Regions from separate parts of the Homo sapiens genome. Here all the other regions are linked to region 4. Evidence: promoter capture Hi-C in human tissues and cell types (Jung and others, 2019). All regions are on one chromosome and are shown on one strand. Each heading gives the region's core, a stretch centred on a gene start or on the middle of the fragment in contact. The rest is flanking DNA. Distances are from core to core; before and after follow the strand shown.

Region 1 (3,087 bases), core at 297-2,796, 300 kb before region 4:
TTGTGTTGTCTCGAAGGCCGCTTACTATTTTCTGATCATCATACTGTAAACAGTAAACTCCTTTGCTTGTTTCACTTCGGCAGTGAATTCTCTGTAAACTATGTCTTCCACATCTCCAATTAGATTCTATTGTCTGAGAAGAAGGAATGGGAAAGAGGCAGTGTTAGGAAACACCTAGAATCAAACTCTTTTTAGGCTTTAATGACAATCAATGGCTCAATGCTTTACTCTATGGGATATACACAACTTAGGGAAAACTAAAAAATGTCTTTAAAAGGCTACTATCTATATTTATAAAATATTCTTCCTTTTGCAAGGTAATTAAAGGTTGTTTCCTAGAACTTCCCTGCCTATAATTTGTTCAATTAAATAATAAATCTGGTGGAAAGAGACTACTCATCAAGAGAAGAAAAGCTACGAACTACGTGAGGTTATACACTCAGTGCTCTTACATATGTGATGGCCATTGCTACTGATTGCTACTGATGAACTTCTAAGGAGGTTCAATTCAGAAGATATTTAAATATGAGCTTATGAGTACAAGTTTACCAGTCACACTGCTATGTATGAAGGGATCAATCTCTTTAACTCTCTCATCTACTTATTAGTAAACCATTTTTTAAAGCTTTAAAATTTTGCCTAGCAATTTATTTTACCTACCCTACTCGCCTGTAAAGAGATTGATTTTCTTTTCCTTTTCTTTTTTTTTGATGGAGTCTCGCTCTGTCGTTCAGGAGGGAGTGCAGTGGTGCGATCTTGGCTCACTGCAACATGTGCCTCCCAGGTTCAAGTGATTCTCCTATCTCAGCCTCCTGAGTAGCTGGAATTACAGGTGTGTGCCACCATGCCTGGCTAATTTTTGTATTTTTAGTAGAGACAGGGGTCTCACCATGTTAGCCAGGCTGGTCTCAAACTCCTGACCTCAGCCTCCAAAAATGCTGGGATTACAGGTGTGAGCCACCATGGCCAGCTAAGAGATTGATTCCCAACTCATGTCAATAAACCTTAATGGGCTTGCTGTAACCATACTGTGACTGAAGAATGCTGATAATTCTGTGCCCTTGGGCAATACCCCAAAATACATAGATTCTTACCTCAATGTCTTGTATAATTTTAGGATAAAGTGCTCTATAAAAAGAGTTGGGAGGAGCATTCCCGTCAGGAGGTTTGTTTTTGAATAAATACTGTCCCCTAAAAAATAACAAATATTTCCCAGTGAAAATCATGACATTATATATTTAAATACATATATATTTTGAGACAGAGTCTCGCTCTGTTGCCCAGGCTGGAGTGCAGCAGTGTGATGTTGGCTCACTGCAACCTCCGCTTCCTGGGTTCAAGTGATTCTCCTGCCTCAGCCTCCTGAGTAGCTGTGATTACAGTCATCTGCCACCATGCTGGCTAATTTTTGTATTTTAGTAGAGATGGGGTTTCACCATGTTGGTCAGGCTGGTCTTGAACTCCTGGCCTCAAATGACCCGCCTGCTTGGCCTCCCAAAGTGCTGGGATTACAGGCGTGAGCCATCACACCCGGCCGACATTATATATTTATAAGGAACTTCATATATTTTGAAAGTGTTTTCACGGTTACCATTCCATATACTCTCCATAGCTGTCTGCGGAGGAGCAAAGGTAAGCCTGATTTCAGGAGTCCCATGTCAAAGAGTAACCTTCTGGGCTCTAAAGAATCTGACCAACACTGATTTGCTTTTGGGTAAAACATGATTATTTCCAGTGTAGAACATCGGAGTACCAAGCCTTTAGGAATATTATAATATCAGTAAACAAATGGAATATGTACAATCAGAATTCATCTATTGCTCTATTAAGACTACTGCTTAGATTCACTGGCCTCATCTTTTGGAAATTTTGTTAGTAATGGTAACTATTACCTTTGAACTAGCACATGCCCTATAGGTTTTTTTTTTTTTCCCTTTTACTGTGTCAGTGGTCCCCAGCATTGTAGACAGCAGCAATGCCTCTGGCATGGAGATCACTTTTGCTAGGTCTTTATTTGTACAGGGTAAGGTGTGGTGGCTGCTCAGTCACCCAGGCTGCTGCTAATCAGTGCAACTATGCTTTGAAAGGAGCAATTCAGTTCATTTCATCAGAAAACAAAAGGATCACAGGTGTGTCCAGCAGCAGCTAGGGAAGAAGAAAAAAAAGAAATGCCTAAGAGCACTGCTATCAAGTCTAAGGCATGAAACTGACTTTCACAGGTGTGTTCCTGGCTGTGTACATACACATGTACTTAACTGCCTTCCCTGATTCCAGTGAGCAACATTTGTTAGTATCTCCTTCCTTATGACAGCACATCTCTGGAATACTCGTATCCCAAGCTAGATCTTTGCTACAAAAAAAAAATCAGTAAATGGCAATCACTTCCTGCTGGGTAAAAAATTTAATTCCTCATCCGGAAGTTAAGAACCCACCAAACACGGTGTGGAAGCTAGTAAACCCCACTATGGGTGTACTAACTGCTGTTCTCACTGGCACCGTGCCTTGCAAAGTGGAGAGAGGCAGAAATGCCTCTGAGTGTAATCCTGGCACCAGAGAAATCATGTTTTCTCTGGGCCAGTCATCCACTCCTCCCTCTATAGCTCCATTACAATATAATTAATTGTTTGGTGTCTCCAGGAGTGTTTCTCCCCTGCCCTCTCCCTGTTATATACCCTGAAAATTAGTTGAGAAAATTTCCTATCAGGAAGGTAGATGGCTCTAACTTCTGTGTTAATACAGAAAAGAAAATCTGAAATAGAGAAGTGAAAATAATACTTATAAAAAGGGGGATTAATGAAACATGATACACCAGCATAAACAAAAGGGGAAACAAGATGCGTTATGAAAGAATTCCAGATTAATGGTACATTTCTCTGTACAATATTATTCTACAAACACTTTGCAGGCAAATAATAGATTTTGAATGTGAAGATTTTAAGTCTGACTCCTGAGCCCACCCACATTCTTAACTACTTTATTGTTTCTCAATGCCCACCATTCCTGAGATTCCTGTCTTCTTTTAATCTCTAGCACTCCAAGACTTTCTTCCTATGCAATGATACTATCTACATTCTAAGGAAAGAGAAC
Region 2 (2,920 bases), core at 123-2,622, 280 kb before region 4:
TGGGGAAGTAAGAGAAGAAAAAACAGGGAGAAGGGCAATGCAAGGAAACAAGTACATTGTATAAAATCTTTTAAAATGTCGTGGTTATCTTATTAAATGTTCAGTCAGCATATATAGGCATAAAATCCTTCAAAAAATAATTCTGGATTCCTAAGACATGGTATGAACTATATCTAGGAGCAAAGCAAGAGAATTTTGCTCACTCAAATTTTTTCAGAGACCCTGAGTCCATGCCTGAAGAATTCAATTAACTGCAGAATTCCTAGATCTCTTTTCAAAAACCCCTGCAGCTAGAAAAGCATTCACTAACTACATAATTTAACCCTTTGTGAAACAATGAGTACACTATAGCTAGGAAATAAGTAAACTTCAGTTGTTTAGAGCACTTCATCTAGCCTTGCCATCCACCTTGCATACCTAGGGTTAGTCAACTGAGATTGAAATAGTCTGCTGAAAGATTTCCTTTCAGTCAATTTTGAATCTGAGCTTGGAATTTTAACATTTAACTATGGCAGAGTTGGCATCTTGGCTTGGTACAGCATGACTGTTACACTTTTTATAACCAACACTACCAAGGACAATAAACAAGGTATATAATAGAACTGCTGCTCATCAATGCCTGTCCTCCCCACCCCCAAGACTGATAACAGGGCTGAAAACAAATCTGTATAAAAATTGCCAAGTCTATCAGACTGAACACTCTAATATTGAAATATTACAAAAAAACATGAGCTAAATTTTGGGAGGACAGAGAAAGGCAGGAAAGGTCTTATAGGACTTAGAGTTGAAGCCTAACTTGAGCAACTGTATTTAACATTCACCATGTGCTACAATAGTGCCAATGAGCTGATGGCTTCATGCTTCAGTTCAAAGGGCCACCCATTTTGAAAGGTAAAAAAATTTGGAAAACTAGCCAGGCGCGAAAACTACAGGTGGCTCACGCCTGTAACCCCAGCACTTTGGGAGGCTGAGGCGGCGGATCACCTGAGGTTGGGAGTTCGAGATCAGCCTGACCAACATGGTGAAACCCCGTCTCTACTAAAAATAGAAAAATTAGCAGTGCATGGTGGCCGGCACCGGTAGTCCCAGCTAATGGGAGGCTGAGGCAGGAGAATTGCTTGAATCCTGGAGGCGGAGGTTGCAGTGAGCTGAGATTGTGCCACTGCACTCCAGCCTGGGCGACACAGCGAGACTCCGTCTCAAAAAAAAAAAAAAATTGGAAAACTGAACATCAAAATAGCAAACCAAATTCATCTTCAAAAAGGATCAAATCTGAGTCATTTTGTTTTCACTTTGATTAAATAAAGATCTATGGGGGGGGTCAAGCAAAGAATGTTTAATTCATTTTCTAAAAATAGCATTTACAGTAGACACATTTTAGTAAATATGAAAAATTCAGATACACAAAAAACATGGAAATTGCCCATAATTTCAACTATCAACAAAGACATAATGTTCACATTTTGGTGGGTATATTTGTTTTTTTATTATTATTTTTTTTTTTTTATTTTTTTGAGACGGAGTCTCGCTCTGTCGCCCAGGTTGGAGTGCAGTGGCACAATCTCTGCTCACTGCAAGCTCCACCTCCTAGGTTCACGCCATTCTCCTGCCTCAGCTTCCTGAGCAGCTGGGACTACAGGCGCCTGCCACCACGCCCGGCTAATTTTTTTGAATTTTTAGTAGAGACGGGGTTTCACCGTGTTAACCAGGATGGTCTTGATCTCCTGACCTCATGATCCGCCCGCCTCGGCCTCCCAGAGTGCTGGGATTACAGGCGTAAGCCACCGCGCCCGGCCATCTTTCTGTTTATTTAAAAATGTATTAGTCAACGGCCAGGCATGGTGGCTCATGCCTGTAATCCCAGCACTTTGGGAGGCTGAGGCAGGCGGATCACTTAAGGTCAAGAGTCTTAGACCAGCCTGGCCAACATGGTGAAACCTCGTGTCTACTAAAAAATATATATATATATATATATACATATACATATATATATACATATATATACACATATATATATATAAATATATACTCAGGTGCAGTGGTGCACGCCTGTAATCCCAGCTACTTGGGAGGCTGAGGCAGGAGGATTGCTTGAACACGGGAGGCAGAAGTTGCAGTGAGCTGAGATTGTACCACTGCACTCCAGCCTGGGTGACAGAGTAAGACTTCATCTCAAAAAGAAAACAAAATTTTTTTAAAATTTATTAGTCAAATATTTGAAGAATATGGGGGAGGGGGAGTGTATCTGTGCCATCTAGAGAATTCTTTGTTCATAATATCAAATTGATCAGAGCAAGCAAAATTAATCTTTGCTGTTAGAGAAGTCAAGATCTGATCCTGGAGGACAGAGAATTATAGGTTATTGTGATGAGGGGAGCTGAAAGGAGGGGAGGAAAGAGGAGAAAAGAAAGAGAGTCAAAGGGAGAGAAAGTGAGGAGAGAAAGAAAAGGGAAATGGAAGGGGGAAAATGGGAAAGCAGAAGGAGGAACGCAAGGAGAGGAAGGGCTAGGGCTAGAGAAGAGGGTAGAAGAGGAAGAGGAATGACAAAAGTGACCGAGGATTGGGGAAAGGACAGTGGATACTAGGCAGTGGGGTTGGTGAGAGATGGGATAAGGATGAAGGAAGAGGGATAAGCAGGTCTAGGGGAAAGATAGGGATGGGGAGAGATGATGAGCTGGGGAAGAGATGGAGGGAGATGGCTACAGGAGAGATGAAGTGAGAAATAGGTGGGAAGGGGGAGAATGAATATAACCAAATGCAAAAGGGACCCAGCATTACCAAGCTCACCTGCTCTAAGAGGAGCAATATGCTTGTTGGACAAACATCCTCTCCCACACAATAAACATCAAGAGGGAGAGGAGATAAAAAACTATTTTTTAAAACCACTACTTAATGTTTCAGGCGGAGTAATAAAGTTTAA
Region 3 (2,832 bases), core at 161-2,660, 470 kb before region 4:
ATTATTTACTTATACTTTTAAAAAGAACCTAGAATCTGAAGGCAAGGTAAGAAATCCCCAGTGATCATGAAAATTTCACAAGGTTTTGTGGTTCCCTTCATCTTCAAGTTTTTTTTTATCTTCTATCATCTGTTACCAAATGACTCAGTCTTCTGACTGGCAGAGACCAGAAAAATCACAAAACCTTTTTTTTTTTTTTTTTTTTTGGAGAAGGTCTGTCTCCCAGGCTGGAGTGCAGTGGCATGATCTCAACTCACTGCAACCTCCACCTCCCAAGGGTCAAGCGATTCTCCTGCCTCAGCCTCCTGAGTAGCTGGAATTACAGGCGCCTATCACCATGCCCAGATAATTTTTATATTTTTAGTAGAGACGGGGTTTCACCATGTTGGCCAGGCTGGTCTCAAACTCCTGACCTCAAGTGATCTGCCTGCCTTGGCCTCCCAAAGTGCTTGGATTACAGGTGTGAGTCACCACGCCCGGCTTAGAAAAATCACAAAATCTGATGTCACATGGCAATGGCAATACAAGAATTTAATCTTAGATCTGAATGCTGATGGTATGCTCTATATTTTATTCAAAATCTCTTGGAATGTACACTGTTGACACAAAGAAGGCCATTGCCTACTAATAACAGCATTACTAACTGGCAAAACCCCTGGAGATCTGTTTTTTTTCCCCCCAGAAAAATTACATTGTATATTTCTATCCTGCCCACCTGCCCACCTCCTTACTTACTCTACTGTTCATTATAGACATATGGTCCTTAACTTTTGTAGACATAGCTATACATTTACATACCATATATTTAAATGCATACACATATATAATTTATATAAAAATTAGTGATGGGAAATGTCTGTTTTTCTCAGTTATAAAATTAGGACAGTGTCTTGGAATGATGTTATGTGACCCTTTGGAAAACATCTTACAGCTGTTGTCCAGGCTGGAGCATAGTGGCGGGATCATAGCTCATGTAACCTCCAACTCCTGGGCTCCAGTAATCCTCCAGCCTCAGCCTCCTGAGTAGCTGGGATTACAGGTGCCCACTACCACACCTGGCTAATTTTTGTATTTTTTGTAGAGATGGGGTTTCACCATGTTGGCCAGGGTGGTTTTGAACTCCTGACCTCAAGTGATATGCCCTCCTCAGCCCCACAACGTGCTGGGATTACAGGTATGAGCCACCACGCCCATTCTAAGATGAAACTTTAAAAAACTTTTTTAGAACAGTTTTAGATTTACAGAAATATTGTGAAGATAGTAGAGCGTTTCCATAGACCCCTATTATCACATTTTACAATATTATGATTGTTATTATTAACAAACCGATCCAATTTCCTTAGTTTTTATCTAATGTCCTTTTTCTTTTCTGTTCCAGGATCCCATCCAGAATACATTACCTTTAGTCATCATGTCTCCTGTGGCTCTTCTTGGCTGTGACAGTTTCTCAGCTTTCCCAGTTTTAATGAACTTGCCATTTTCATCAGATTGTACCAAGACCTACTATCAATATGACTTATGACTAGTGGTGCTGACCTTGATCACCTGGCTGAGGTAGTTCTTGTCAGGCTTCTCCACTGTCGAGTTGCTCTCCCCATCCCCCTTTTCCATATTGTACTCTTTGAAAGAAAGTCACTATATGCAGCCCTTCCTTAAAAATATTAAAATGAACTAGCTTAATTAAGTTCTTTCTTACATTTAGGTGTAAATACCTCTGAGGTTTTTTTCTTTTAAAAAATGATTATCTATGTAATACATACTCACTGCACAAGACTTTAAAAATGCAAGAAAAGTATAAAGCAGCAGCAAATAGAACTACCCATAATTCCATCTGTCACAAGCAACCATTTCTAGCTTTTTGTCATATTTCCTTCCAGTTTTTTTTCTTCTGCATAAAATAACTATTTTTATTTCTATTTATTTATTTTTTTGAGACAGAGTTTCACTCTGTCACCAGGCTGGAGTGCCGTGGCACAATCTCGGTTCTCTACAACCTCCACCTCCCAGGTTCAAGGGATTCTCCTGCCTCAGCCTCCTGAGTAGCTGGGACTACAGGCGTGCACCACCATGCCCAGCTAATTTTTGTATTTTTAGTAGAGACGGGGTTTCACCATGTTGGCCAGGATGGTCTTGATCTCTTGACCTTGTGATCCACCCGCCTCGGCCTCCCAAAGTGCTGGGATTACAGGCATGAGCCATCGCGCCTGGCCAAAATAACTATTTTTAAATAGCACTTGCTTGAAATTATTTCATAGGTGGTAAAAATATTTTATCTTTGAATATGGCAAAGAAGATGGATTCATATAAAACCAGAGCAGATCTTGGTGGTACTTCAAGATATAAACTACCAACCCAATAGATAATTTCTGAAAATAACATTTTAGAGTCTCTTCCTCTATTTTTGAGAAGCTTGAATATTTACAAATACAGCATTCACTGTGAGACTTCTTGTTTCTTTTCCTTTCTAAGACTTTTAACTTGTTGTTTATTTTACTATTACATGAAACACATTTTATTTTAATTTTTAAAGTTTTAGTGTTTTTTGAGACAAGGTCTCATTCTGTTGCCCAGTTTGGAGTGCAGTGGCATGAACATGGCTCACTGCAGCCTCAACTTTTTGGGCTCAAGTAATCCTCTAGCTTCAGCTTCACGAGTAGCTGGGACTACAGGTATACACCACCACACCTACCTAATTTATTCTTACAGTTTTTAGAGACGGGGGTCTCGCTGTGTTGCCCAGGCTGGTCTTGAACTCCTGGGCTCAAGCAATCTTCCTGCCTCAGCCTCCCAAAGTGCTGGGATTACAGGGATGAGTCACCATACCCAGCCTTA
Region 4 (2,746 bases), core at 176-2,675:
CAGGAGTTTACAAACAAAGCCAGGGCCAGGGCTGTGTGTGTGTGGGAGGGGAACAGCCCTTCTCCCTGGACTCCAACCCCCTCTAGGTCCTCCCCTCCTTTCTCCAAGGGCAGAAATGGAAAATTAGTAAGGAGGCCAGTGGCCCCACATAAACAGAATGGGGTAGCAAGACAGGAAGGCCTGAGGGCACAGCCCTGCTGGAATGCCTCAGGGAAATGAAAGAAATAGCTGAGTTCAAACACACCTATATACCCACAGGTTCACACACATTTACACAAATATACGCATGGAGAAACACACACAAACACACATTCAAAAACACAAACACCTTCAAGTAACAATGCACACAACATGTTCTCCCGATATTCACAGATCCCGGGCCCTAAGGTCTTTAGCCCCAGCCTAACTGGAAGCCTGGCCTCCCTGCGAGTTCCTGAGAGCAAAGCCCCAGCCGCGGCCTGGCTCCCGCCGGGCCCCCGCCCCGCATCCGGAACAGCTGGAGTCGGCCTGGCCATGCACTCAAGCCGGGCGCTGGGCTAGGCGGGGCCGGCAGCGGGGCCCCGGCCGGGGCCCGGGCGGAGCGCAGCAGGGAGGCACGGAGCCGGCCCCGTTAGCCCCGGCACCTGGCCTGGCTACTCTTCAGACGCCCATCATCAGGCCGTTGGTGGCCCCAGCCAGCCTGGGGAGCGGCTGCCGGAGGAAAGTGAGCAAGATTGCCGGAGGAGGTAGGGCGGCCGCTTCGGAATCAGGCCGGGGAGAGGCGTCCAGAGCCGCCAACAATTCCCTCCTCCGCCTCTCCGCGTGGAGAAGGCTGAGCTCTCCGACTAGCCCCCTCCCCCAACCCCTGGGGTCCTCCACCCCCTTCCCGCGTCGCCCACCCAAGGCTGCGCAGCCGGCTCTGACCTCCTGCGGGCCAGCGCAGGAGGGCTTCAGATTCCCTCTCCCCAGGCGCGTCGCCCAGGCAGTGGGGTGAGGGGCAAGAGGGTCAGAGGTAGAGGCGCTGGGCTCTTGATCTCAGCTCCGCAAAGTCCACTCTGGGTGGCAGCGGGGCCCACCCGGGCTCCTGGTCCTACCTGGCCCGAGCGGCGGCCGCGTCCCTCCCGGGCTGGGGTTCCCACCACTCTTTCGGGCTCCACATCCCGGGTCGGAGAGACCGAGACCTTCGGGCCGGTGCGGTCATTGCAGCTAGGCCGGCGGGAGGCGGGTGCGCCAGGAGCGCGGCTCGCAGTTTGGGGTGGGGGCGGTGGCTTTTCAGTCGCCCGAGGTTCGGGTGCAATAAAGGAGCAGCTAATGTAATTTACAAACAGCTCGGGCCGAACGCAGCGCAGCGCCCGGACTGACAGGCGCATTAGGCAGGCTAATTCCAGCCGGCTCCTCCTACCCCCGGCCCGCTAATTAATGAGCTTCCCAACTTACAGCCGCCTGCATTGGACAGACAGAGAGTGAAAGAGAGGGCGAGGGAGAGGGAGAGAAGGAGAGAGAAGGGGGGAGCAGAGAAGAGAGAAGAGAGAGGGAGGGAGGGAGAGCGAGAACAGGAGGAGAGAACAGAGGCAAAGAAGAGAGGAAAAAGGGAGAAAGGAGAGAGAAAGAGAAAGAAGTGCCGCTGCAGATAATTGATTACACCGCGATCAAGGCTAACTTGTTAGCAATAGTCAATTGCCCCGTCTCTCCGCCTCCCTCGCAGTCCGGGATCGGCGCCCTCGCCTCGGCTCTTCCAACTGCGGCCGCCAGGACCCGGGGCCAGGAGCCACTGCCGAGCCACCTGACACCTTTAAATAGCACCGGGGTTGGCGAAACTGGAGCCCCGCGCAGCGCGCCCCGGCTCCGGCCCCGGATTGCTGGAAGCCCCAGCAGCAGCGGCGCCCGCGTCAGCGCCCTCTTCCCGGGGCCCCGCGCTGTTCTCCCCTCCTCAGCCGCCGCGCTAATCGGCCCCGCGCCCGGCCCGCGCCCTGCCCAGTGCGGCCTCCTTTCCACCCGCCGCTGCCTGCCCGCGCCGTCCGGCGCCCGAGCTGCCCGCGGGCTGGGTCCCCGCGGCCCGAGCCGCCCCGGCCGGGACCCCGAACAAGGCCGAGATGACTTCCAAGGAGGACGGCAAGGCGGCGCCGGGGGAGGAGCGGCGGCGCAGCCCGCTGGACCACCTGCCTCCGCCTGCCAACTCCAACAAGCCACTGACGCCGTTCAGCATCGAGGACATCCTCAACAAGCCGTCTGTGCGGAGAAGTTACTCGCTGTGCGGGGCGGCGCACCTGCTGGCCGCCGCGGACAAGCACGCGCAGGGCGGCTTGCCCCTGGCGGGCCGCGCGCTGCTCTCGCAGACCTCGCCGCTGTGCGCGCTGGAGGAGCTCGCCAGCAAGACGTTTAAGGGGCTGGAGGTCAGCGTTCTGCAGGCAGCCGAAGGTAGGCGCAGCTGCTGGGTTCCCCTGCACCCAGCGCCTCGCGCCCTGTGCCCTGCGCGCTTCGTCCCCTATGCCTCTGCTCGCCTCTGCCCTCTCCGGCCGCCAGGGCCTTCCAGCCTGAGCAGCTGCTTATGGGAGTGAAGATATGTGGGACGGGACCCAATCCTTATTTCCCAGGGACCTCTGGGTAGGCCAGAGCTGGGGGGTGGCAGGAGAAGGGTGGCCAAGCTCTTTCCGCAGTCTGCTTGCTTTGCCGGGCTCCCTTGCGTTCCCAGTGTCCTGGGCGCTCTTAGCCCGGCTACTCGGCGTGGGGAATCGAGAGTCTTTTGCCGGGGACCTTATGGGTAGGG

What was found. Contacts are between HindIII fragments. The study calls those that stand out against the background at their distance.
Region 1: a contact is called between a fragment that was not itself captured here and the fragment with the promoter of LBX1 in region 4, in 3 of the 25 tissues and cell types used here (IMR-90 fibroblasts, dorsolateral prefrontal cortex and spleen).
Region 2: a fragment that was not itself captured here is called in contact with the fragment with the promoter of LBX1 in region 4 in 4 of the 25 tissues and cell types used here (lymphoblastoid cells, mesenchymal stem cells, pancreas and 1 more).
Region 3: a contact is called between a fragment that was not itself captured here and the fragment with the promoter of LBX1 in region 4, in 1 of the 25 tissues and cell types used here (dorsolateral prefrontal cortex).

What each region holds. Positions count from the first base shown.
Region 1 is chr10:101,529,341-101,532,427 of GRCh38, reverse strand. BTRC (beta-transducin repeat containing E3 ubiquitin protein ligase) reads right to left here. Exons shown (of 15, transcript NM_033637.4): 7 at 1,095-1,191; 8 at 1-133. Among named protein-coding and RNA genes, the nearest start is that of POLL, 57 kb to the left of the region's middle. The HindIII fragment of the contact is 3,559 bases long and covers 1-3,087 here.
Region 2 is chr10:101,504,214-101,507,133 of GRCh38, reverse strand. The region is part of intron 4 of BTRC (beta-transducin repeat containing E3 ubiquitin protein ligase); the gene reads right to left. Among named protein-coding and RNA genes, the nearest start is that of POLL, 83 kb to the left of the region's middle. RefSeq lists an enhancer at 1-242. The HindIII fragment of the contact is 4,822 bases long and covers 1-2,920 here.
Region 3 is chr10:101,700,842-101,703,673 of GRCh38, reverse strand. It overlaps LINC03046 (long intergenic non-protein coding RNA 3046), which reads left to right. Exons shown (of 3, transcript NR_186546.1): 3 at 1,379-1,697. Among named protein-coding and RNA genes, the nearest start is that of FBXW4, 7.1 kb to the right of the region's middle. The HindIII fragment of the contact is 4,281 bases long and covers 1-2,832 here.
Region 4 is chr10:101,228,142-101,230,887 of GRCh38, reverse strand. It overlaps LBX1 (ladybird homeobox 1), which reads left to right and starts at 1,425. Exons shown (of 2, transcript NM_006562.5): 1 at 1,425-2,397. The coding sequence starts at 2,073. LBX1-AS1 (LBX1 antisense RNA 1) reads right to left here and starts at 1,294. Exons shown (of 3, transcript NR_029380.1): 1 at 1,074-1,294. The HindIII fragment of the contact is 30,882 bases long and covers 1-2,746 here.